Regions from separate parts of the Homo sapiens genome. Here all the other regions are linked to region 5. The links are contacts of gene promoters, found by promoter capture Hi-C in blood cells and fetal thymus (Javierre and others, 2016). All regions are on one chromosome and are shown on one strand. Each heading gives the region's core, a stretch centred on a gene start or on the middle of the fragment in contact. The rest is flanking DNA. Distances are from core to core; before and after follow the strand shown. Region 1 overlaps PDK1-AS1 (PDK1 and ITGA6 antisense RNA 1). Region 2 overlaps DYNC1I2 (dynein cytoplasmic 1 intermediate chain 2). Region 3 overlaps DYNC1I2 (dynein cytoplasmic 1 intermediate chain 2). Region 4 has its middle 80 kb from the start of CYBRD1. Region 5 holds the start of DLX2 (distal-less homeobox 2). Region 6 has its middle 8.7 kb from the start of DYNC1I2. Region 7 overlaps PDK1-AS1 (PDK1 and ITGA6 antisense RNA 1).

The links. The method cuts DNA at HindIII sites, captures the fragments that hold promoters and counts their contacts. A CHiCAGO score of 5 or more calls a contact.
Region 1: a fragment that was not itself captured here is called in contact with the fragment with the promoter of DLX2 in region 5 in 1 of 17 cell types (fetal thymus); the score reaches 5.1 in fetal thymus.
Region 2: a fragment that was not itself captured here is called in contact with the fragment with the promoter of DLX2 in region 5 in 2 of 17 cell types (erythroblasts and megakaryocytes); the score reaches 10.6 in erythroblasts.
Region 3: a fragment that was not itself captured here is called in contact with the fragment with the promoter of DLX2 in region 5 in 6 of 17 cell types (megakaryocytes, erythroblasts, M0 macrophages and 3 more); the score reaches 15.8 in megakaryocytes.
Region 4: a contact is called between a fragment that was not itself captured here and the fragment with the promoter of DLX2 in region 5, in 5 of 17 cell types (megakaryocytes, M0 macrophages, monocytes and 2 more). The highest score is 8.3, in megakaryocytes.
Region 6: a contact is called between a fragment that was not itself captured here and the fragment with the promoter of DLX2 in region 5, in 1 of 17 cell types (erythroblasts). The highest score is 6.2, in erythroblasts.
Region 7: a contact is called between a fragment that was not itself captured here and the fragment with the promoter of DLX2 in region 5, in 1 of 17 cell types (non-activated CD4 T cells). The highest score is 6.3, in non-activated CD4 T cells.

What each region holds. Positions count from the first base shown.
Region 1 is chr2:172,550,488-172,553,717 of GRCh38, reverse strand. All of the region lies in intron 1 of PDK1-AS1 (PDK1 and ITGA6 antisense RNA 1), which reads left to right. Among named protein-coding and RNA genes, the nearest start is that of PDK1, 4.0 kb to the left of the region's middle. RefSeq lists a silencer at 603-897 and an enhancer at 603-897. The HindIII fragment of the contact is 1,167 bases long and covers 1,226-2,392 here.
Region 2 is chr2:171,694,153-171,697,673 of GRCh38, reverse strand. All of the region lies in intron 3 of DYNC1I2 (dynein cytoplasmic 1 intermediate chain 2), which reads right to left. Among named protein-coding and RNA genes, the nearest start is that of DYNC1I2, 8.4 kb to the right of the region's middle. The HindIII fragment of the contact is 3,141 bases long and covers 1-2,927 here.
Region 3 is chr2:171,713,602-171,716,805 of GRCh38, reverse strand. DYNC1I2 (dynein cytoplasmic 1 intermediate chain 2) reads right to left here. Exons shown (of 18, transcript NM_001378.3): 7 at 1,363-1,478. Among named protein-coding and RNA genes, the nearest start is that of DYNC1I2, 28 kb to the right of the region's middle. The HindIII fragment of the contact is 889 bases long and covers 1,056-1,944 here.
Region 4 is chr2:171,600,903-171,604,174 of GRCh38, reverse strand. No RefSeq gene overlaps it. Among named protein-coding and RNA genes, the nearest start is that of CYBRD1, 80 kb to the right of the region's middle. The HindIII fragment of the contact is 1,229 bases long and covers 818-2,046 here.
Region 5 is chr2:172,101,314-172,104,569 of GRCh38, reverse strand. DLX2 (distal-less homeobox 2) reads left to right here and starts at 1,670. Exons shown (of 3, transcript NM_004405.4): 1 at 1,670-2,431; 2 at 2,924-3,108. The coding sequence starts at 2,032. It overlaps DLX2-DT (DLX2 divergent transcript), which reads right to left and starts at 1,564. Exons shown (of 5, transcript NR_126376.1): 1 at 1,302-1,564; 2 at 538-632. RefSeq lists a silencer at 1,669-1,868. The HindIII fragment of the contact is 7,057 bases long and covers 1-3,254 here.
Region 6 is chr2:171,677,072-171,680,435 of GRCh38, reverse strand. No RefSeq gene overlaps it. Among named protein-coding and RNA genes, the nearest start is that of DYNC1I2, 8.7 kb to the left of the region's middle. The HindIII fragment of the contact is 9,909 bases long and covers 1-3,364 here.
Region 7 is chr2:172,508,699-172,511,716 of GRCh38, reverse strand. All of the region lies in intron 1 of PDK1-AS1 (PDK1 and ITGA6 antisense RNA 1), which reads left to right. Among named protein-coding and RNA genes, the nearest start is that of ITGA6-AS1, 44 kb to the right of the region's middle. The HindIII fragment of the contact is 2,843 bases long and covers 1-2,815 here.

The DNA of each region.
Region 1 (3,230 bases), core at 560-3,059, 450 kb before region 5:
AGGGGGTGAGTCAGTTCCTACCATCTCTTCTACCATGTGAGTGAAACTGCCTTTGAAAAATTATAACAGTGAGAAAATTTTGACAGTGAAAGAGATCTGACCTAACCAACTCCATCTTGCTTCTCACTTCCAAGCTGCCCTTGTTTATTCCTGGGCATAGGCCAAACTAACTTTGGGAGGAATTTAGATTACAAACTTTGAAACAAAGATGATAAGAGCTCTTCCATGAAACAAATCCCCAGCTTTCCTGGGGACCAGACCACCTTTGTTAAACTAACAGATTAGGCAGGGCACAATGGCTCATGCCTGTAATCCCAGCACTTTGGGAGGCCAAAATGGGAGGATTGTGTAAGTCCAGGAGTTCGAGACCAGCCTGGGCAACATAGACCTTGTCTCTACAAAAAATGAACAAAATTAGCTGGGCATGGTGGCACTTGCCTGTAGTGCTTCGTGGGGAGCATCACTTGAGCCCAGGAGGTGTAGTTTGCAGTGAGCCAAGATCCTGCCACTGCATTTCTGCCTGTGTGACAGAGCGAGACCTTGTCTCAAAAAATAAGTAAACTAACAAATTAACTAGAAGATTAGAAATTATAGCTCAGGAGTCATGCAGCCAGAGTCCACAAGATCACCAACCTCCACAATTGCTCCTATAGATAACATTGCTATTATAAAACCTAACATTGGTGTTTGAGTTATTTTTCAAATCCTGAATTCCAGTGGACCAGCTGGAACCACACAGATAAGTAAAATGACTCATCTGGTCTTGTGGCCCCCTCCAGAAACTGACTCAGCATAAGATGACAGCTTCGACTCCCTATAATTTTATTCCTGACCCAACCAATCAGCATTCCCCATTCTATAGCCTGCTGTCTGCCAAACTATAAAAAAACCCTAGCCTCTGAATTTTCAGGAGGTTAATTTGAGTAGTAATAAAACTCATCTTCTGTTTAGCCAGCTCCACATGCACTAAACTCTTTGTCTTGATAAATTGGCTCTATCTGGTCAGCAGGCAAGAAAAACCTATTGGATGGTTACATGAGGACACAGCAAGAAAGCCCTTATGAGACACTGAGTTCCGGCATCTTGATCTTGAACTTCACAGCCTCTAGAACTGTAAGAAAACTAATTTCTGTCATTTATAAATTATCCAGACTGTATTTTGTTACAGCACCACTAACAGACTAAGACACACATGTAGATATAAAGTGTAATCATACTGTAAGCTTCTATAAAAAAATTTTTACATAGCAGACATGAGCCAGCCCCTGTAAATTCACTGAGAATTTGTGATCCATGTTGGACTGATGTGACTGAAAGGAATGGAAAAAGCAATACAAAACAAGCTAGACTGTGTCACCTTGTCCCCAGTACCCTCTGGCTTCATGAGGTTCAGAAGACAAAAGGAAAGAAAAGTCATATTTTTTCCCCCTGCTTCTTTTCTTCCAAGCTATAATTTGTGTTCCTCTAAGTGTGGCCATAGCTTCCTACCCTTGTCCAGTATCCATAGAGATAGTACTAATTTTTCTCTGTTGCTGATTGGGTGCTCACCAGCCCTGGAGGTTTAATTCTGCCCACACTCCTGTAAATAGTCCCTTCATTAATTAATTAATCAATTTCCCTTTTGAGTGTGCTATCATTTCCTGCCCTAGAACCCTTTTTGATATGCTGGAAAGATAATTTTCAAAAAAGGTAAAATAATGACTCTCATGCAGCTATAAAATGAACATGTGTCAAAAATTTTATTTAATACATTAATTAAATGAGGGAACCAGTAAAGATATTATAGCCAGTTCAAAGGAGAAGTGAAAAAACAGGAATTCAGAAAAATTTGCAAAGGCTGTAAAACTGGCTCTTTCCTTGGGAATCAGGGAGGGTTGCCCTTCTACCTGACAGAATTTATTTGCACATGTATAGGTAAGAATTATGTGCGTTGTTACCATTTATCTGCAATTTACAGAGTTGTAAAATAGCTCAAAGACAGTGAATTGGAATCAGATACCCTGAAAAGTTGTGCTCTAAACAATACGTAATATTCCACTGAAGCATAATTTTTCTCCATATACATTTGCCTTCTTTCTTTAAAGGGTACTTTGATTCAGGTAATTACTTGTGTAGTGATATGAGGGCATCCTATTCACCAGGATTTATTTAGCACAAACATAGTTTTTATCTGGAGTAAGTGCTTTGAAATGCTGATGGAGTGGAAGGAGAGATCTGTAGGGAAGGCTCAGAACAGCTTTACAGGAAGCAAGGAGAGGAATTCACTTTGTAGAGCAAAGGGGAAGGGGAGGAGGCAGAAGATTGCAAAGACTGTTCACAATGTGAGCACTCCTTATAACCCAAACCTTCAGTAAAGTTTGCAAAAAAAGAGAGATTATTGGATACTGAAGCTTTTATGTGTTGTGCTTTTGTGAAAATTGGAGGAAAGGATGAATTTTTTTTATGAGAGTTTGTGGCAATGGAGATAGACTTTGCACACAAAGAGTCTGAGTGGTGGTGGGGTGGGGGGTACTATAAATGAGACTATGAGCCTCAAGAATTTACAGACATGGACAGGGAGAACTCTAGACTTTCACAAACTGAGACTGGTAATGTTAAAAGATAAATTTGGGCACATTAAAAGTTTTAAAAATTTATTTGAACTGTTGATTTAAAAAAAAGACTCAAACTCTGTAAAATATTTTAAGAGATTTATTCCGAGCCAAATGTGAGTGACCAAGGCCTGAGGCACAGTCCCAAGAGGTCCTGAAAACATGTGCCCAAGGTGGTCGGGTCATAGCTTGATTGTGTACAGTTTTAGGGGAACAGAAGTTGCAGGCAGACATCACTCAGTACATGTAAAGCGTACACTGCTTTGGTCTGAAAAGGCAGGACAACTTTAAGACGTAATATAGGGGGATTGGGAAACTTGTGGCAGGAGGGGGCTTCCAGGTTATAGGGAGAGTCAAAGATTTTCTGACTGGCAATTGGTTGAAAGAGTTAAGTTACTATCTCAAGACCTAGGATCAATTGAAAGGAGTGTCTGGATTAAGACAAGGGGTTGTGGAGACCAAGATTCTTATTACACAGATAAAGGTCCCACATAGCAGGCTTCAGAGAGAACAGATAGTAAATGTCTCTTATCAGACCTAAAAAGGTGTCAGACCTTAAAAGGAAAAACCTGGAAAGGGAAGGGGATCCTCTACAGAATATAGATTTTCCCCAGAAGAAATAGCTTTGCAGGGCTAGTT
Region 2 (3,521 bases), core at 108-2,607, 410 kb after region 5:
GTCTTGCCATGTTGCCCACGCTAGTCTTGAACTCCTGGGCTCAAGTGATCCACCTACCTCAGCCTCCCAAATATCTTTCTTCGTTCTTCCTTTCTCTCTCATATCCCAAAGTAATGGGATGACAGGTGTGAACCACCACACACAGTTCGAATTAGATCAAAATTGAGCTTTTAAATCTAACTTCCAGTTTAAAGGAAATATAAGGGATAAAAGCTAAATGTGAGAATGCCATCAGACAAACCCAGGAGGGGAGACAGTCTACAAACCAATTGGCCCACCCTCTTCAACAAGTAGATATCATGAGGCAAAAAGTAGTATGTGTGTGGAGAATATTCAAGATTTTTAAAAATTAGGAAGGGTGTAGTGGCTCATGCCTGTAATCCCAGCACCTTGGGAGGCCAAGGCAGGAGGATCGCTTTGAGCCCAGGAGTTCAAAGCCAGCCCTGGCAACATAGTGAGACCCCATCTCTATAAAAAAAAACAAAAACAAAAACAAAACAAAAAAATTAGTTGGGCATGGTGGTGTGCACCTATGTTCCCAGCTACTTGGGAGGCTGAGGTGAGAGGATCGCTTGAGCCTGGGAGGTTGAGGCTATAACAAGCCATGGTTGCACCACTGCATTCCAGCCGAGGTGACAGAGCAAGACCTTGTCTCAAAAATAATAATAATAATAATAATTAAGAAAAATAAAAACATATAGCAATGCAATGTATGTATGGTACAGCAACACTTTGGAGGGAAACAAACTAAATTTCTTGAGGAAAGAAAAATGTTTGTGAACCTAGGACTATTTTGTAAAAGGAACAAAGGGGGTGATTTTCTGTATCAGAAATTAGAATATAATACAAAGGTGCAGTAATTAAAACTGGGTTGTGTAGAACCAAACAAATAGATTCATAGTGAAAATAGAGAGCCCAGAAATGCCCATAAATATATGGGAATTTACTGTATGACAAAGTTGGCATCGGACTTCAGTGGGGGAAAAGATAGACTAACAAATGGCACTGAGAAAATTAGCTACCTATATAGAGAAAAATTAGGTTGGATCCCTACCTCATACTATTTTTAAAAATATAACCCAAATATCTACATGTGAAGGGTAAAACTATAAAATTAATAGGAAAAACATAGAAGAATATATTTGCATCCACAATGTAGGAAACAATTTCTTTTTAAAAAAGACCAAAAGCACACAAAAAAGGGTTATACAGGTTGAGTATCCCTTACCCAAAATGTTTGGGACCAAAGGTGACAGATTATTTTGGATTTTTGACTATTTGCATTATACCTAGCAGTTCAGTATCCTAACTTAAAAATCTGAAATCTGAAATTCTCTAATCAGTATTTCTTTTGAGTGTCATGTTGGTGCTTAAAGTGTTTCAGATTTTGGGGCATTTTGAATGCTGAATTTTTGGATTAGGAATACTTAGCCTGTAATTGCTAGATTTGATCATATCAAAATGAAGGATTTGATCATATCAAAATAGAGGATTCTGTTCAATGAAGAATATTATAAGCAGTTAACAGATTAGAAGGGTTTTTAAAAAGACTAAAACAGACAAAAGTCCTCCCTAAAATATACAAAATACACAAAGAATGCCTATACATCAGAAGATAAAGAACCTCAATCATAGTAAATGGGGAGAAGGACATGAATATGCAGTTCACAGAAGGGAAAACTTGAATGGTTAAAAGATATATAAAGAGGTGGTCAACCTCACTGTAATCAGATAAATGTATATTAAAACATTTTGGTGTACCACTTTATACTCATCAAGTTAGCAAAAATTAGAAAGCTGGATAATATCCAGTCATCATGTGAATATGGTAAAGCAGTTACTTTTTCATGCACTGGTAGCGGGCGGGTAAACTTTGTAGCCATTCTGGAGAGTGACACGCAGAACCTAATTAAGCTAAGTCTTATATACAATAACATAGCAAGTAAATTCTTGGGGATACACCCCAGAGAAAGTATTCCACAGTCCTCAAGGGAAAAAACACATATTTTTTGCAGTGTTGCTTATGATAGTAAAGCAAAGAGACAAAAGGAAACTGAGTGCATAGCACTGGGGGAATGGATAAGTAAAATGTGGTACATAATAGGATATTATATATTAGAAATAAATGACTAAATACGTATATAGCAACATGGAATAAACAAAAGACATACAGCACTATGCCATTTATATATATAAAGTATATATACACAGAGATATGTGAAACCTTGAAAAACAGAGGATAATCTGAAGGATGTATGTTAAAAATTCAAAAGTGGGCCGGGCATGGTGGCTAACACCTGTAATCCAAGCACTTTGGGAGGCCGAAGAAGGCGGATCATGAGGTCAGGAGTTCGAGACCAGCCTGGCCAACGTGGTGAAAGCCCGTCTCTACTAAAGATACAAAAAATTAGTCAGGTGTGGTGGCACGTGCCTGTAATCCCAGCTACTTGGGAGGCTGAGGCAGGAGAATCGCTTAAACTCGGGAGGTGGAGGTTGCAGTGAGCTGAGATCACGTGATTGCACTACAGCCTGGGCGACAGGGCAAGACTCCGTCTCAAAAAAAAAACCAAAAACCAAACAAATAAACAAACAAAAACTGCAAAAGTGGTCACTTAATGCATTAGTGGGAATGAGAATGGAATTAGAGATGAGAAATGAGGGACACATACACAAACCCTAAAGAATGGTCTTTCAAGAATTAATGATGGAGATGGGCCATTGATACAGTTTGGACATCCCCTCCAAATCTCTTGTTGAGATGTAATCCCCAGTGTTGGAAGTGGGGCCTAGTGGGAGATGTTTGGGTCATGGAGGCGGATCCCTCACGGTTTTGTTTAAAACTGTGTGGCACCTCCCCCCACCTCTTGCTCTTGCTCACTGCATGAGACATGCTGACGCCCCTTTGCCTTCTGCCATGATTAGAAGCTTCCTGAGGCCTTGCCACAAGAAGCCAGCAACATACTTCCTGTAAAGCTTGCAGAGCCATGAGCCAATTAAACCTCTTTTCTTTTTTTTTGAGACGGAGTTTCACTCCTGTTGCCCACACTGGAGTGCAATAGCCAGATCTCAGCTCACCACAACCTCTGCCTCCCAGGTTCAAGCAATTCTCCTGCCTCAGCCTCCTGAGTAGCTGGGATTACAGGCATGCGCCACCACGCCCACCTAATTTTGTATTTTTAGTAGAGACGGGGTTTCTCCGTGTTGGTCAGGCTAGTCTTGAACTCCCGACCTCAGGTGATCCGCCCACCTCGGCCTCCCAAAGTGCTGGGATTACAGGCGTGAGCCACCCCACCCAGCCACCTCTTTTCAAGTTACCCAGCCTCAGTATTTCTTTATAGCAACACAAAGAACTAACCCAGCCATAAATTAAGAAATATGAACACTTTAGGGGTGGGTGGATCATGAGGTCAGGAGTTCGAGACCAGCCTGGCCAATATGGTGAAACCCTGTCTCTACTAAAAGTACAAAAATTAGCTGGCGTGGTGGCACAAGCCTGTAGTCCCAGCTACTCAGGAAGCTGA
Region 3 (3,204 bases), core at 251-2,750, 390 kb after region 5:
GCCTCCAGAGTAGTTGGGATTACAGGCACCCACCACCACGCTCGGCTAATTTTTGTAGTTTTAGTAGAGACAAGGTTTCACCATGTTGGTCAGGCTGGTCTTGAACTCCTAATCTTAAGCAATCCACCTGCCTTGGTCTCCCAAAGTGCTAGTACGGGTGTGAGCCACCACGTCCGGCCACAATCCTAACTTTTTTTTAGGTTTAGGCAAATATGAAAATTTAAAGATTTTCTTTGGTAGTAGACAGGGATTTCAAGGATTTCTCCTCACTTTTGCTTACCTGTATTTCCTGGCTTTCTGCAATGAATATAACTTTTGTTTTTCCTTAATGGAGAAACATGGTAATTTAATTAAAAATTTAAAAATACATTAATTTAAACATCTGATAAAATTTCTATTCCAAAATTGTTAACAGCTCTAAAATCCATAACTCATTTGGTGGTAAACTCTGACATGGTAAAGTCAGAGGTAAAGCTATTTATAATCATTACTTATCTCACTTAGTATGTTCATATGTTTTGCTGCCAAAATATTAATGCCCAAAATACTACTAGAGTGTTAACATATAATACATATATTTTATTACTTTTACATAATCTGAAAAACTTGGAATTCTAATATATATATGGCCCCAAAAGCTTCAGAAAAGACACTGTGAAGTGTATTAGGGATCTCACATAAATCTTTTTTTTTTGTATGATATAAATTCATTAGCCTCACTGGGAAAATGAGATCGTAGTACTTTATGCTTGAATCGTTAGCTATTTGTAATGCTTTCTGGTTTAAGAACCAAAGGGTCTCCACATTCAATAGGTCTGTGCATACGTCCCCATACTATACACAAATTACAGGCTACTAACTAATCAACAAAATAGAGCCCCTATATCATAAAAGAGAAAATTTAAGAATTAAGTCTAGATTTGTTCATTAGTATGAATAACATCAGGGTACAGTATGCTTTTCAGAAATAATTTACATGACTTTGTTTACTATGGGACCCACTCTCTTTTGGGGAAGAATTATGCTCAATGACAGAAACAGAAAATTCTTAAGCTTTTTGGCTTCTAAAAGCAGTATACATTAATGACAAAATAAGGGCTGAAAGACTTAAATTTATGTCAACAAAATTAAGAAACCACACATACAGCTTACAACGTTAACTTCTAATAAGTTTTAAAACTCGAAAAAATGAAGACATAAATACAGAAACTGTAAAGCATTAGTTTTCTCATGTTTCCCTAAGAAAACATGCCAAAACACAAAAGCAAAAAAGAAACAAAACAAAAATCAAAGGAAGAAAAAAAGAATCTATGTATTTAACATAGGTGCTCAATGACAATTATACTAAGGATAGATATTCACCTTCTTTGGGTTGAGCCATAACTGGAGTCTGAGTTTCCTTTGTATACGTGACAATTTCTCGAGGAGGAAAGTCGACTTGCGTGATTTTAGCCATTCCAAGTTTAATAGGTCCTCGTCTAAATTAAGTAAATACAAACAACACAATTTTAACTACATCAAACCATGTTATTTTCAAAAATTAAGAATTAAACAGTCATTTGCACCCAACATTGTAATTTCAATCCATTTTATTCAAGAAATTTTAGATTAACAATAAATTGGCTTTATTTTAGCAAAAGAATGAGAAGGTAGCAAAAGCAAAAGATATTTCTGAATCATTCAGTGTTTTTATTTTCATTTTAAAAAGGCAAGTAATTTCATTTTTTTAGAACAAATGTGCGGGCAATAATGAAGTAAGAGAATAGGAACTTCAGAGTGGACCACTGAATAAGGTTGTCGTAAGAACTGGTTTCAGCTGGGATATGGTTCTTTCTGGACTTTTTTTTAAGAATCAGACTAGATATCACTCAGACCACATTTAGCTGATTGTGCCACTAGGAGAATTCAGCTTTACGACTGAAAAACAGGTTTCTGTTGAAAGCTTTTTTTCTACTTATATTTGGCAGAAATTGAGAATTACACTATCAATTTGGACTTTAAAATGAAATATTTAAAACTTTTAAATCTCTAATCTCTGCATGATCAATACTGTCCTTGATTCACATTATGGAGAAACTAAGGTCCAGATATTCTACACTTAGACTAAAGTGACAGATCTTTTGAATACCATAAATCTACTAAAGTCACTTCTGTTTAGAAATACAGGGTATACATTCTTTTTTGACAATGGAAGAGAGCTGTGGCTGAGGAAAATGAACCAAAAGAAAAATATATTTTATTAGCTATCTGGGAGATCTTTTATTGGTTTTATTAGATGTTTAAATCCTAAACCAAATAAAGTACGCTTCCAGACTCCCAAAAAAGTTCTCAGTGATGAAGCTGCCTTAAAAGGATATACAATAAAGACACTGCTGCAACTTTCAGAATATAAAGCAGGCTATCGCTGGTAATATAACTTTTTTCTTATATAAATATTCTTTTCAGTTCTATTTAGTAACTAAATCCAAGTCCTATACAATCTAATAAAGCATAACAAAGTACTATAAAGTATAATAAAATTAGTACATTTTAAAAATTAATGTTCCAAAATGTGGGCCATAACAATTTTTTAATGTCTTTTCTAGTTTAGAAATAAAAAAGAAAGGGAAAAAAAAAGTATAGTCAAAGAATTAAGTGGACAATTTAAGTAATCTGAAGTAATCTAGAAGTCTAAGAATAAAATTTGAAATAAGAAACTTTATATTCTGATTTTTAAGATGCAAATTATATAAAAAGTAAATCACTCACATAGCTGGAAAAAAATCGTCAAGCCAACAATATTAGGAATCAATTACCAACTTGAATGCATACAGAGTCTAACAGAAAAAACCATAATACTAAACAAACGAAATATTCCAAGATTTTATAGGAGGAGGTGGGTAGGGAAGTAATACCTCACTTATCCAAAAGCCACTTTTACTGAAAATAAGGAAGCAATGGGAGGCAGGAGGGGGAAGCCTCAGTGTGGCCACTACAGAGGGCTTCCAGTTCAAGTACAAGAAACTCATATATTTTTCTTACATGCCTCAAATCAAGGCTTATTTACCTTACTTTAGACACAATTCCAAAAGGTATATTCATATGTTTTTGAAGCTGTAAATTATCAGGGGAAAAGGGCTATCTGAGTCAGGCAAAATGGCAGCAGCAAACATTTATAATTTGCATTAGAATCTAGAATAAATAACTGAATGAATGAATGGATGG
Region 4 (3,272 bases), core at 183-2,682, 500 kb after region 5:
AGTGAAACTCCATCTCTACTAAAAATACAAGAATTAGCCAGGCGTGGTGGCACAAACCTGTAGTCCTGGCTACTCAGGAGGCTGAGGCAGGAGAATCCCTTGAACCTGGGAGGTGGAGATTGCAGTGAGTTGAGATCATGTCACTGCACTCCAGCCTGGGCGACAGAATGAGACTGTCTAAAAAAAAAAAAAAAAAACAAACAAAGAAAAACAAAATAAGCCATCCTCTCATGAATATCACTTATCCTAACATTTAAGAACCATTGATATTTGTAATGATTTTGTTTTTCATAATTTAAAACTAGGGGAAGACAGGCCGGGTGCGGTGGCTCATGCCTATAATCCCAGCACTTTGGGAGGCCGAGGTGGGTGGATCACGAGGTCAGGAGATCGAGACCACCCTGGCTAACACAGTGAAATCCTGTCTCTACTAAAAATACAAAAAATTAGCCAGGTGTGGTGGCAGGTGCCTGTAATCTCAGCTACTCGGGAGGCTGAGGCAGGAGAATGGCGTGAACCCGGGAGGCGGAGCTTGCAGTGAACCGAGATTGCGCCACTGCACTCCAGCCTGGGCGACAGAGCAAGACTCTGTCTCAAAAAAAAAAAAAAAAATAGGGGAAGACAATTAAGTCAAAGTCACTTCCTGGCTTTCAAATATTTATTTTACATATTTATAGAGGTGAAGATGCAGAGAAGTTCTCCTCTTGCATATCACAGGTATCCACAAGTTCCACAATATGCTAAAGGCTCCCAAGAAAAATATCAGGTGTTCAAATTCTTACATAAACACGAAACTGACGCTTTTTCCCTTTAAGCTTCCCACAAATGACCTCTAAGTTGGAAAACGTCTTGGCATAAAAACAAAAATACTGCTCTAAAGGAAAAAGAGAAGGTGGCCTTGGAGTCCCTGAAGCACAACGTGAAAGAAACAAGAGAAAGAAACCAGCTCTGATATGTTTTCCGACAGTGACCCAGGTGCCTCTGGAGGAGGTGGCTCAGGAAAGAGGGGAAAAGAGGAACAAAATAAATTATGGGGAATCTAAAAGGGGCAATTCGAATTTCTGGAAAAGTTCTTTCTAAGTGGCTTGTTAGCAATAAGGCAAGACACATGGACATATGTGTCCTAAATCAGTAACCCCTACCCTTTGTTTTTTCTAGCCAAGGTTGATTTGAAGAATGTTAAAGCACATGGATTGTATATAGAAATATCAGGAAAGACCCCGTCTCAAAAAAAAAAAAAAAAATCAGGAAAGATGGCTGCCAAAATATGAATGTGGCTGTCTCTGGATGACGGGATTTCAGGTGTTTTTTGTCTTTATAATTTTCTGTACTTGGCTTTATTTTATTTCAACAAGCAGGTATTATTTACAAAGTCAATAAGCAAATGGTTATTATTTAAAAATAGTTGTGCATATGAGTACGTTACATGTGAAAGTGAGATGGTAAAGAAAACAATGGGAAATGATCGTGTTCATCTAATCCATGAAGAGGCCCCTGCCCTTTGTAGCAGATCATTGTCTCCTGATTCAGGAACAAACAAAGGAAAAAGGCCAGGACCCGTCACCCTCTAACAAGTCATAATCAGTCTCCCATCCCCTCCCGCCTCTCAAATCTGAGGATGAGAAGGAAGTAGGAGAAGGAAGAGGGGAGGGCAGGTCAATTAGAGGAGAAGAGGTGAGAAGGGACCTGAGGGTTCCGGGGCTGAGACCCTCCTCAGGCAGCTGAGGGATTGGCTGGAAGATGGACGGAGAGTGGATCACAGATGAGCTTGCTGAGATTTTCATGTACTCATTAGATTTACAAGTTAATTTACTTTGTGGACCAGGCAAAGGGTATTATATTAAGAAATAAATGATTTAACTATTGGTCCATGTTTGGGACCACCTCAGTTTTTACACAGAACACCGTGCCTCATCAGATGTTTTTGCCTAACATGGCAGTAAAGGTAATTTTTCTCTAGGGAGTATCCCAGCTTTTAAATAATGTTTTCTAGAACATTTCTAGCTGACAGGGAGTTTATAGAGTTTAAAGTTTAAAATATAAGCTTACAGGGTTAAGCTTATATTTTTACTTTCTGACAGGTAAAAAAAACTTTGTAATCTTCTCCACACAGCAATATTTACCAGTAATCCACACTTCCAACCACAACATGATTTTTGCAGGGATAGGGTTAGGCTTGGGCTGACTAGAGATTTTCTTCAAAGAGCCTCCTCATCATCAAGGCCCTTTGGAGTTTAGAATGTGTGTGGAAGGGAAGATGCCAACGCGAAGTGTGTGAGAACAACAGAAGGAGGAGACTTTCTTTTATTTTTATTTTCGAGATGGAGTCTCCCTTAGTCGCCCAGGCTGGAGTGCAGTGGAGTGATCTCAGCTCACTGCAACCTCCGCCTCCCAGGTTCCAGCAATTCTCCTGCTTCAGCCTCCTGAGTAACTGGGATTACAGGCACGTGTCACCACGCCTGGCTAATTTTTGTATTATTAGTAGAGATGGGATTTGACCATGTTGGCCAGGATGGTCTTGAACTCCTGACCTCAGGTGATCCACCCACCTCTGCCTCCCAAAGTGCTGGGATTACAGGTGTGAGCCACTGTGCCGACGTATCTTTTAATTTTTAAAATAGAGATAGGGTCTCACCATCTTGACCAGGCTGCTCCTGAACTCCTGGCCTCAAGTGATCCTCCCATCTTGGACTCCCAAAGTGCCGGGATTACAGATGTGAGCCACCACATCTGGCCAGAAGGAGCAGACTTTGTCCAGAGAATTTTTAAAGAGAAAAAAAGCTGGTTAAAAGTGGGGATATCTGGGGCAGAGCACTTGGGAAGGTTATGGAAGCTGGAGGCCAAGAGGCGCCATCGCAGAACAACACAAAAATTCAGGTGAGGTGAGGAGAAGGGAGAGCAGCTTTGGGCAGCACAGAAGGCAGCAAATACAGAAAATTATAAAGATCAAAAACCTGAAATCCCACCATCCAAAGACAGCCACAAAGGTATTTTGGTAAACATCTTTCCTGATATTTCCATATTCAATCACGTGCTTTAACATTCTTTAAATCAATTAAAAAAAAACAAAAACAAAAAACAAAACAGGGTCTGGCTCTGTTGCCCAGGCTGGCATGCAATGGTGCGATCATGGCTCACGGCAACCTCTGCCTCCCAGGCACAAGCAATCCTCCCACCTCAGCCTCCTGAGAAGCTGGGATTACAGGCACGTGCTGCTATGCCCGGCTATTTTTTTTTTTTAGTAGAGATGGGGTTTTGCAAGAGCCTAAGTT
Region 5 (3,256 bases), core at 421-2,920:
TCAAAAAAACAAAAACAAACAAAAAAACACCAAAAGGCAATCATGTTTCAATATCAAGAGGTTGGTTTTGCAGCTGAGGCCCACAAAGTAGGCAGAGAACCGCATAAAGCAATGCAGGTGGGTGGAGGTGAGCTCCACCTCCAACGTTTCTCATAAGCTGGCGCTTTCCATCTAGGGGCCTTCCTTAACCAAAAAAAAGCTGGGAACTAAATCCAGGTAGACTTAAAGGCGCATTACCTATCTCATTATTTCTCTGTGTGAATGCTGGAGTTTTAATTACACACTTGCTTTTTATGGGGAAGAAGACCAAAGATCATATTTTTGAAGGTATCAACTTGTTTTCTATCAGACAGTTGTTTTAACAAGTTCTTTCAGCGACATGTTATGTCTTTAGGAAAGGGTGCTTCAGATGGTGCGCACTAGCACAATTTTGTGGCTTTTAATTACTATTTTGTTCTTTTGGGGGGTTTCAGAGGCTGGCGCCTGGGCGTGATTAGACCGTCTACCCCGCCCCCCGCAACCTCGCACACTGCCCACCAGGTGGCGCCACAAAGCAAGCGCTGCCGCAGGAACTTCGGACTTGGGAGTCCAGCAAGTCGTGCAGTCCATCACCGTCGGGCCAAGGTTTCCAACTACAAGGTTATAGAGACAGAGGAAGTCACCATTTCCGATTTTTTAAAAAACAGAGGGAAAAGAAAAAAATTGCAATGATAGGGTAGAACAGGGTCCTAAAATGCAAAACTGTAAAACAGGATTAAATTCAACAAACCAGATAAAACTTTTTATATTTGTTGTAAATTTACAGAGAAGTGATAAATCTAGTATCTACTTGATAAATCTATAATCTCACCTATTATCCTATTTCCTTTTTCGCAAGAGCATCGAATTTTCAAGGACAACTGGTGAACCTTTCCACCCGAAGGAGGAAGTCCTCGGGATGGCTTTCAGGGTGTCATTTACTTATCAAACGTATATAATTACTCAGAGTCTCGCGTGTCGGGAAAGTACCAGGGAAAGTGGTTTCAAATATACTATTAGCAATAATACCTTTAAGTTTATGTAGCTTCTCTTTGAAGCAACAAGGAAAACCCGTTTCAATATTATATGATTAATTGTCCTAATATCCCTGCGGATTGGTTAAGAAGCGAGCATTACACGTGGTTTGTGGATAATTAAATCAATTGATTATGTCAAGTGCCGAGTGGCTAACAAGAATAAATGCCAGACACTTCGAGGAAAAGTGAAGATAGAGCTGGCTGGACTCTGGGCACCGATGTACTTTAATGTGTTTGAAAACTGACCTCGGACATGAAAGTACGAATCACTGGAACTGGCACTTGCTCACAGAATGGGAGAGGGGACCCCACTTCTTCCTCTGAGGCAAAACGCCAGTCTGTCTCCACGCCTTCTGTCTTCCTGCTGCGGGCCACCCTGACTCCTCGCTACCTCGACCCCTCGCCTCGCTGCTCACATTCGGCGGCAGTCTGTTTGCACCTGGGGCCGCTGCAGCCGCAGCCGCAGCCACAGCGCCCACCATGTGACGCCCGCCCCTTGGCCGGGCGTTCCCGGAGCTCCGCGGCCGTTTGCTTCTGATTGGCTGTTGCTAGGTGACGTCGCCAGCGCTCACGTGACGAGTGTTAAATGCCCACACTTCAGGAGCCCGCCTGGCAGACAATCGTAAAGCCGCTCGGGGCCGCTCACCTGCTCCCGCCTCCCAGAGCCCCGACCCGGCCCAGCCACCCCTGCCCCCTCCACTGCCCGCCCCCCGCCAGAGCCCGCGCTCGCGCTGGGCAAGGAGCCGAGCGGGCCCAGAGGCCGAAAGAGGATGCGACCAGAGGCAGCTGTCCCGAGCAGCGCACGGTGATCGCCTCCCCCGGAGGAGGAGGCGCCTAGACGGTTGCCTCCTTTCTTGTTTCCCCACCACCACCCCCGTAATTACATTGGCTGCTGGAGGGGACCGGGAGAGACAGAGGAGGCGCCTGGCTTCCCCCGCACGCCCGCCACCTCTGCTCTTTCCCGTCTCGGGCCAGGATGACTGGAGTCTTTGACAGTCTAGTGGCTGATATGCACTCGACCCAGATCGCCGCCTCCAGCACGTACCACCAGCACCAGCAGCCCCCGAGCGGCGGCGGCGCCGGCCCGGGTGGCAACAGCAGCAGCAGCAGCAGCCTCCACAAGCCCCAGGAGTCGCCCACCCTTCCGGTGTCCACCGCCACCGACAGCAGCTACTACACCAACCAGCAGCACCCGGCGGGCGGCGGCGGCGGCGGGGGCTCGCCCTACGCGCACATGGGTTCCTACCAGTACCAAGCCAGCGGCCTCAACAACGTCCCTTACTCCGCCAAGAGCAGCTATGACCTGGGCTACACCGCCGCCTACACCTCCTACGCTCCCTATGGAACCAGTTCGTCCCCAGCCAACAACGAGCCTGGTATGCATAACGCTGAAGTCAAGAGTGCCGAGTCGGTCTAGTTAATGGGATGGATGGGTAAACGTGTTTGGGGCGGGGGGCCTTCGAAAGCTCTGGATTTTCACGCTGCCTGCTCACCGCCCGCTTGTGCCCTTTACCCTCCCCAGCCTCCAATCTGCCGCAGGTCGCCGGTTACGTCCCTCTCTCCTTTGGTAGGACCTGGTGGCCTCAAGAGCCAAGTGGGCGTGCTCTGCCTGCCTCATAAGGGCATCTCCTTGCCACCAGCTTCTTTCTCTTGGGTGTGCACTTGTCTCCCCCTTCCCTGGAGGGTACAGCTCCCGGGGTCGGTGGCGGCTCCGATCGCACGCTGCGAAGTTGCGCCTGCCCGTGGCGCCACAGTTCAGTGCACCCACCTCTTTGCTCAAGCCAAGTCCCCCCCGCCGGGCCCTCTAGGAGGGCGGGAACTCCAGGACCCCTGGGTTGCGCTGTTCTTACGATTCTTTATCGTTGCAGAGAAGGAGGACCTTGAGCCTGAAATTCGGATAGTGAACGGGAAGCCAAAGAAAGTCCGGAAACCCCGCACCATCTACTCCAGTTTCCAGCTGGCGGCTCTTCAGCGGCGTTTCCAAAAGACTCAATACTTGGCCTTGCCGGAGCGAGCCGAGCTGGCGGCCTCTCTGGGCCTCACCCAGACTCAGGTGGGGCTCGCGCCCTGCAGGGGCGAGGAGAGCGCGGGCCTGAGATGGCTGGGAAGCAGGCGGGTTTAGGACAATGCTTTTTAAAGTTCATTTTAAGTACTTTTAAGGATTTCCAGGCCTGCGCCTCGAGCGGCCCTAAGTAAGCTTC
Region 6 (3,364 bases), core at 623-3,122, 420 kb after region 5:
CGTATTTGTTACTTTGGACCTTACAGATTTAGATTCTAACAGTTAAGACATCACAAACTGTAATCTTGCTTTTCTCATTGTAACAAAGTAAACAAGGAAAACTAGGAGTGATGTTCAATATATTGTTTTCAAGCAGCTCTGTAGCAAAACATTTGAATTAATAAAGATGCTACTTATAAATTATTTTTGAGGGGCCGAGTGTGGTGGCTCATGCCTGTAATCCTAGCACTTTGGGAGGCCGAGGCGAGAGGATCACTTGAGCTCACGAGTTCAATACCAGCCTGGGCAACATAGTGAGATCTCATCTCAAATAAATAAATAAATAAATAAATAAATGTTGACATTCCCAAAACTCATTGAAATCATAGAAAAATACTAGTACTCTCAGGTATGAGAGGGTGTGAGAGAACCACAAGTGATACTGCGGGAACGAGCTCAGAGCCCATAGCTGCAGGGGCGTCAACACCCACAAGGCCTGAAGAAAGGGAGAGAGAGTAACAGAAACCTGACTCAAGAACATTTTACAGGGTGAGGTATCTTGAGCCCAGGCAGCTCAAGGTGACCTCATAGGGAGGAAACCAAGGAAATAAGTGACCCTGATGTCACTCTGATCTCCTCCTGGGGCTTCCCGTTGGCCAAACCCTACTGGAAGCCAGTAGGCACAGGAGACCATTCACCCAGGTCAGCCTCCTGAGGCCGAAATCAGGGTGGAGAAGGGTGAAAGTGCATCTGGAGGGGCAAAGGGAAGGTATCAGATGACATGTTACAGGTGGTTTAATTCTGAGAAGTAAGCACTTTGTTCCCGGTAGGCAACCATACATTGTTAAGTTTTCAGTTTCAGCTGACTGGAGCTACTGGCTTCAGGTAAATAATAGCTCATCTCAAGGTAGCTACATGTCACAAAACACTCAATGGGGATTGGAACAATGCCTGTAAGGAGTGTGTGTGTGTGTGTGTGTGTGTGTGTGTGTGTGTGTGTGTGTGTTTTGTTTGTTACTATTCAAGGACAATATTTTCCAGGAATGAGACCAATGTACATTTTGCCACTCATAAGAAGTTGCATGGGAAACCCTGAGTTAATTGGCACCATGTTTCTAATTAATTCTAATAATAGTTAGAATCCTTTAATTGGGCCCCCTGAGCAATGATCCAGCACTGCCCTTTATTGTGAACTGATTAGACATAAGGAAGTAGAGGGAGATGAAGGACTTTAGAATTCTTTAAAGGCATTGTATTTGATGGGGTACATATGTAACACTGCATTTTCTCTAGCCAAATTTAGAACTATTTGAGAGAGAGAAAGAGACAGAGACAGAGAGACAGAGGCAGGGACAAGTAACTCAGGCAGTTCTCCTTGGAGGGCCTGCTTGTATGAAACCCATAGCAGAGAACAGACAGCAATGCATGGGCACTTTCTTTAGGTGCACAGATGCCAAAGGAAATAATAAAGTAGAGAGAAAGTAGGAAGCTGCATGTACTAAGGTTTTTTCTCCCAAATTCACTAATGAGATAATTCTCTCCTCCTCCTGCAGGGAGGAGTAAGGGAGGGGATGGAGAGAGGCCAAGGGTGGTACTCTGGAAAGATCCCACTACAAAAAAACCTAAGATAAGGAAAGAGGAAGTGCTTCTCCAATAGAAGACAATATCTTGGCTTACTGGATGCCATTAGAGAATATACAAGGAAAGGAAAAATAGTGACTTGGTTTGAGAAATGTTTGACTTTAGTTGCTAGTGGACATTAAGTTGCGGATATACAGTAGGAAGGTGCATATATGGATCTGGAGTTCAAGAGAGATGCTGGGCTGGAAATGTAGATTTGAGAGTCATATACATATGGATAAATAATAGTTGGAGATGGATATGAATAACAATGATTTGGGATTATGTACATAAAAAGAGGAGAAGATAACTCTTTGGAATCCTGGAGAACACCAGCATTCAAGGAATAGGTGAGAAGAAGTGAATATTAAAAAAGTAATGGAGAAAAGTAGGTAGAAGAAAAGCCAAGAGTGGCTGGGTGCAGTGGTTCATGCCTGTAATCCCAGCACTTTGGGAGGCTGAATTGGGCGGATCACTTGAGGTCAGGAGTTTGAGGCCAACCTGGCCAACATGGCAAAACCCTGTCTCTACTAAAAAGTACAATAAATTAGCTGGATGTGGTGGCGTGTGCCTGTAGTCCCAGCTACTCGGGAGACTGAGGCAGGAGAATCATTTGAACCCGGGAGGTGGAGGTTGCAGTGGGCCGAGATTGTACCACTGCACTCTAGCCTGGGCCACAGAGCGAAACCCTGTCTCCCAAACAAAACAAAACAAAAAAGCCAAGAGAAAGTGGTATTTTAAAAAATTTGATTCCTTTGGATTTATTTCTTTGTCCTGTTGACAGGTTATAGGGCATCCCAAGTATAATACTTATGATACTATAACAACAAATATTAACAGTCGAACTATTGTATTCAACTATAGTGTTGAGCACTAATGATCAATGACACAATTTGGGCATAAAGATCAAAATTTAATTATTTTATTTTAAATTTCTAGTGTATATGTGCAGGATGTGCAGGTTTGTTTCTTGTAGATTCTGGATATTAGAATCTACATGGATTGTTTTTCCATCTGTTTGTGTTCTCTCTGATTTCCTTGAGCAGTGGTTTGTAGTTCTCCTTGAAGAGGTCCTTCATTTCCCTTGTTAGCTGTATTCCTAGGTATTTTATTCTCTTTGTGGCAATTGTGAATGGGATTTCATTCATGATTTGGCTCTCTGCTTGTCTGTTGTTCGTGTATAGGAATGTTTGTGATATCTGTTCTCTCACGTTTACTGTAGCGCTATTCACAAAAGCTAAGATTTGGAATCAACCAACAGATGAATGGATAAAAATGTGGTACTTATACTCAATGAAATACAATTCAGCCATAAAAAAGAATGAGATCCTGTCATTTGCAACAACATGGATGGAACTGGAGGTCATTATGTTAAGTGAAATAACCCAGGCATAGAAAGACAAACATCGCATGTTCTCGCTTATTTGTGGGATCTAAAAATCAAAACAATTGAACTCATGGAGATAGAGAATAGAATTATTACCGGAGGCTAGGAAGGGTTGTGGGAGGGTAGGGGAGAGGTGGGAATGGTTAATGGGTATTAAAAAAATGGTTAAAAAGAATGAAAAGAACTAGCATTTGATAGCACAACGGGGTGACTGTAGTAAAAAATAATTTAATTGTACATTTAAAAATGACTAAAAGAGTATAAATTGGATTGTTTTATAACACAAAGGATAAATGGTTGAGGTTACCATTTACCCTGATGTAATAATTATACATTGCGTGACTGTATCAAAATATCTTGTGTACCCCATAAATAAAT
Region 7 (3,018 bases), core at 145-2,644, 410 kb before region 5:
ATGTGTTTGTTTCATTACTGATTTAGATAAGTCTTTATAACCAGATCAACATGTCACTGCTTCTGTGGGTCAGCTACTAGAACTGGCACATTGTTTCCCATTCCGTTGTAATGCTATTCACTGTCATGGGATTTTCCTTCTCACGGGGCAGGAATCTTAAAAGCATGGCCTGTAAGAGTAGCCTACAACAAATGTCAGCTATCCTGTCAAGACGGTGAAAGCTATATATTTAGATAAACAGACTTAACTGCACCCCAGTCAGTCCTTATCCACACATTTGAGGATGTTAGGGGTTTGGAAGTTGTGTAGAAAGACATAAGACAGTGTAAGCCTAGGTTATAATCTTATTCCTTATACCATTATACCTTATGCCATTTTACAGGTGAAGGAATTAAGGCATCAGGCATTTAAACTTGCCCAGGTCATACAGTAAAAAGTGACACAATAGGGACTTGAATAAAGACTGGCTCTAGAGACCCTTGACACCCAAAGAGTAATCCATAGATCAGTAGTATTGCAACACCTGGAGGTTGTTAGAAATGTAGACTCTCAGGCTGTTTCCTAGACTGTTTAAATCAGAACCTGAATCAACAAGATCCTCAGGTGAGTCTTAGGCATGTTAAATTTTGAGAAAGACTGCTCTTAACTTCTCTAATTGAGACTTCCTGACCACCAGTGGCTTCCTCAGGTAAGAACCCCAGAACTTCAGTTCCATCAGCAATTTGAGGACACCTTGGCATCAGGCAGTCCCCCAATCTTCCTATGGAAGAATGCATGTATATGTATGTTTTTTGCCTTTACATAGTCTTTCAGTCCATGCATTATTGTGACATGTGGGAGGCAGGAGTTTTCAAATTTGTTCTTCCAGTGACAAACTCCGTTCTAACACACATGGTGTAACTCAGGTGCAAGATGAGCTCTGTGAGCATTTCCTCTTCTGCACAGCAGTAAAGGTAATAAGCAGTAAAACTGTGGCTTGCCTTCCCACTAAAGGAAACCAAAGAAATCGATGGTGTGTAAAGAACTCTGAGAAAAGGTTCAAAAAGAGAATCTGCTCTTTTCACACTCTTCCATGTCAGCGGGGAGAAAAACACAAAGATTCAATACCTAGCGATTTCAAGATGCTTTGTTGATTATCTTAACATGTCATCTTTCTGACCCCAACCGAAGACTGCATTATGGTCACTGTATTAAGGGTTGAGACAGAATTTAACATAGAAATAAGGTCACTCTTGTCGTTGTTCAGAATGATCTATGTTGATAAGGACTTTAAGAGGTTCATCGTATTTTTTTTTTGTAGTTATAACACCCACTAGTAAGACTTAAGTTGGTAGACACTGAAGAATGAGGAGACAAAAGGTTCCCGTGACAATAAAAATAAACCGTGTCTCCCCATCTGTGAAACGAGGAAGTAGAACTAGATTTCCATGCTTCCTTCCCTTTTTAAGATTTATGGTTCTATATAATAAACAAGGGTAAGTATAAAAGTAACTAGTAAGCACTTCCAGATGGTCCAATTTTCTCTTTACAAGAACCTCTGGGCTGGGTATGGTGGCTCACACCTGTAATCCCAGCACTTTGGCATGCCGAAGCAGGGGTGGATCATCTGAGGTCAGGAATTCAACACCAGCCTGGCCAACATGGCGAAACCCCGTCTCTACTAAAAATACAAAAAATTAGCCATGCATGGTGGCGGGCGCCTATAATCCCAGCTGCTTGGGAGGCTGATACAGGAGAATTGCTTGAACCCAGAAGGCAGAGGTTGCACTGAGCCAAGATCGTGCCATTGCACTCCAGCCTGGGCAGCAAGAGTAAAACTCCGTCTCGATGGAGCCAGACTCCATCTCAAAAAAAAAAAAAAAAAAAAAAAAAAAGAACCTCTGAGTGAGCACTTATCTTACAGGCCAAGAAACTGGGCACAGAGATATCCGTAACTCACCCAAGGTTATGTTCTAAGAGGAGAAGCTAATTCACACCTGCAGCGTGGCTCCAGAGACATGCCCTTATGCACCGCTCAGCTGCCTCCCTGCCTATAGCAAATGCACCTCTAGCTTCTCAGCTCCTGTTACTGGTGCAGTGGAAGTACCACAAACAGGAACGAGGCATTCCACACAGTGAGCATATTATTTTGATAAATATTCACAACATCCAATAATCTCTAAAGTAGTTCTCAATCCTGGCTGCACTTTACGAGTCAGCTGGGGAGCTTTAAGCAGCGCTAATTTCTGGGTCTCACTCAGATTCTCATGTAGTCAGTGTGGCAGATTGTCCAGCCATCGGGATTTTAATAAATGTATTTCTTTGGTGATTTAAATGTGTAGACCTGCTTAAGAATGACTCTAAATTTTCTGGGAATGGGGTTGTTCTGGGGGCAAGTTCTGCCCACAAAGGTTCAGGTATTGACTTTATTTTTTTTTTTGAGACAGAGTTTTGCTTTTGTTGCCCAGGCTGGACTGCAGTGGCGCAGTCTTGGCTCACTGCAACCTCTGCCTCCCAGTTCAAGCGATTCTCCTGCCTCAGCGTCCCAAGTAGCTGGGATTATAGCCATGTGCCACCACCACACCCGGCTCATTTTTTGTATTTAGTAGAAACGGGGTTTCACCATGTCAGTCAGGCTAGTCTCGAACTCCTGACCTTATGTGATCTGCCTGCCTCGGCCTCCCAAAGTCCTGGGATTACAGGCGTGAACCTCCACGCCTGGCCAGGTATTGAATTTATGTGTCAATCATTGATATCTTAGGGTTTTAAATTCTGCTACCTATAAAAAGTGAATTCACTTATGCTTGTCAATACCATCTGTAGTTTCAGATAAGCTTCCTATAAAAGGTCAGAGCCAGTGTCTTACGTATATCCCCAGAGCCTAACATCCCTAAACATCTGTTTACTTCCAACTGGAAAATAATTATTAAATCACATCCCTCTCACAATGACAGGATCTTAACAGAACACTCACTTAAATCCACTTACTGATTGTTGGTGAACTGAAAACTTAAATTGCTAGGCTTTGAGATAACAACG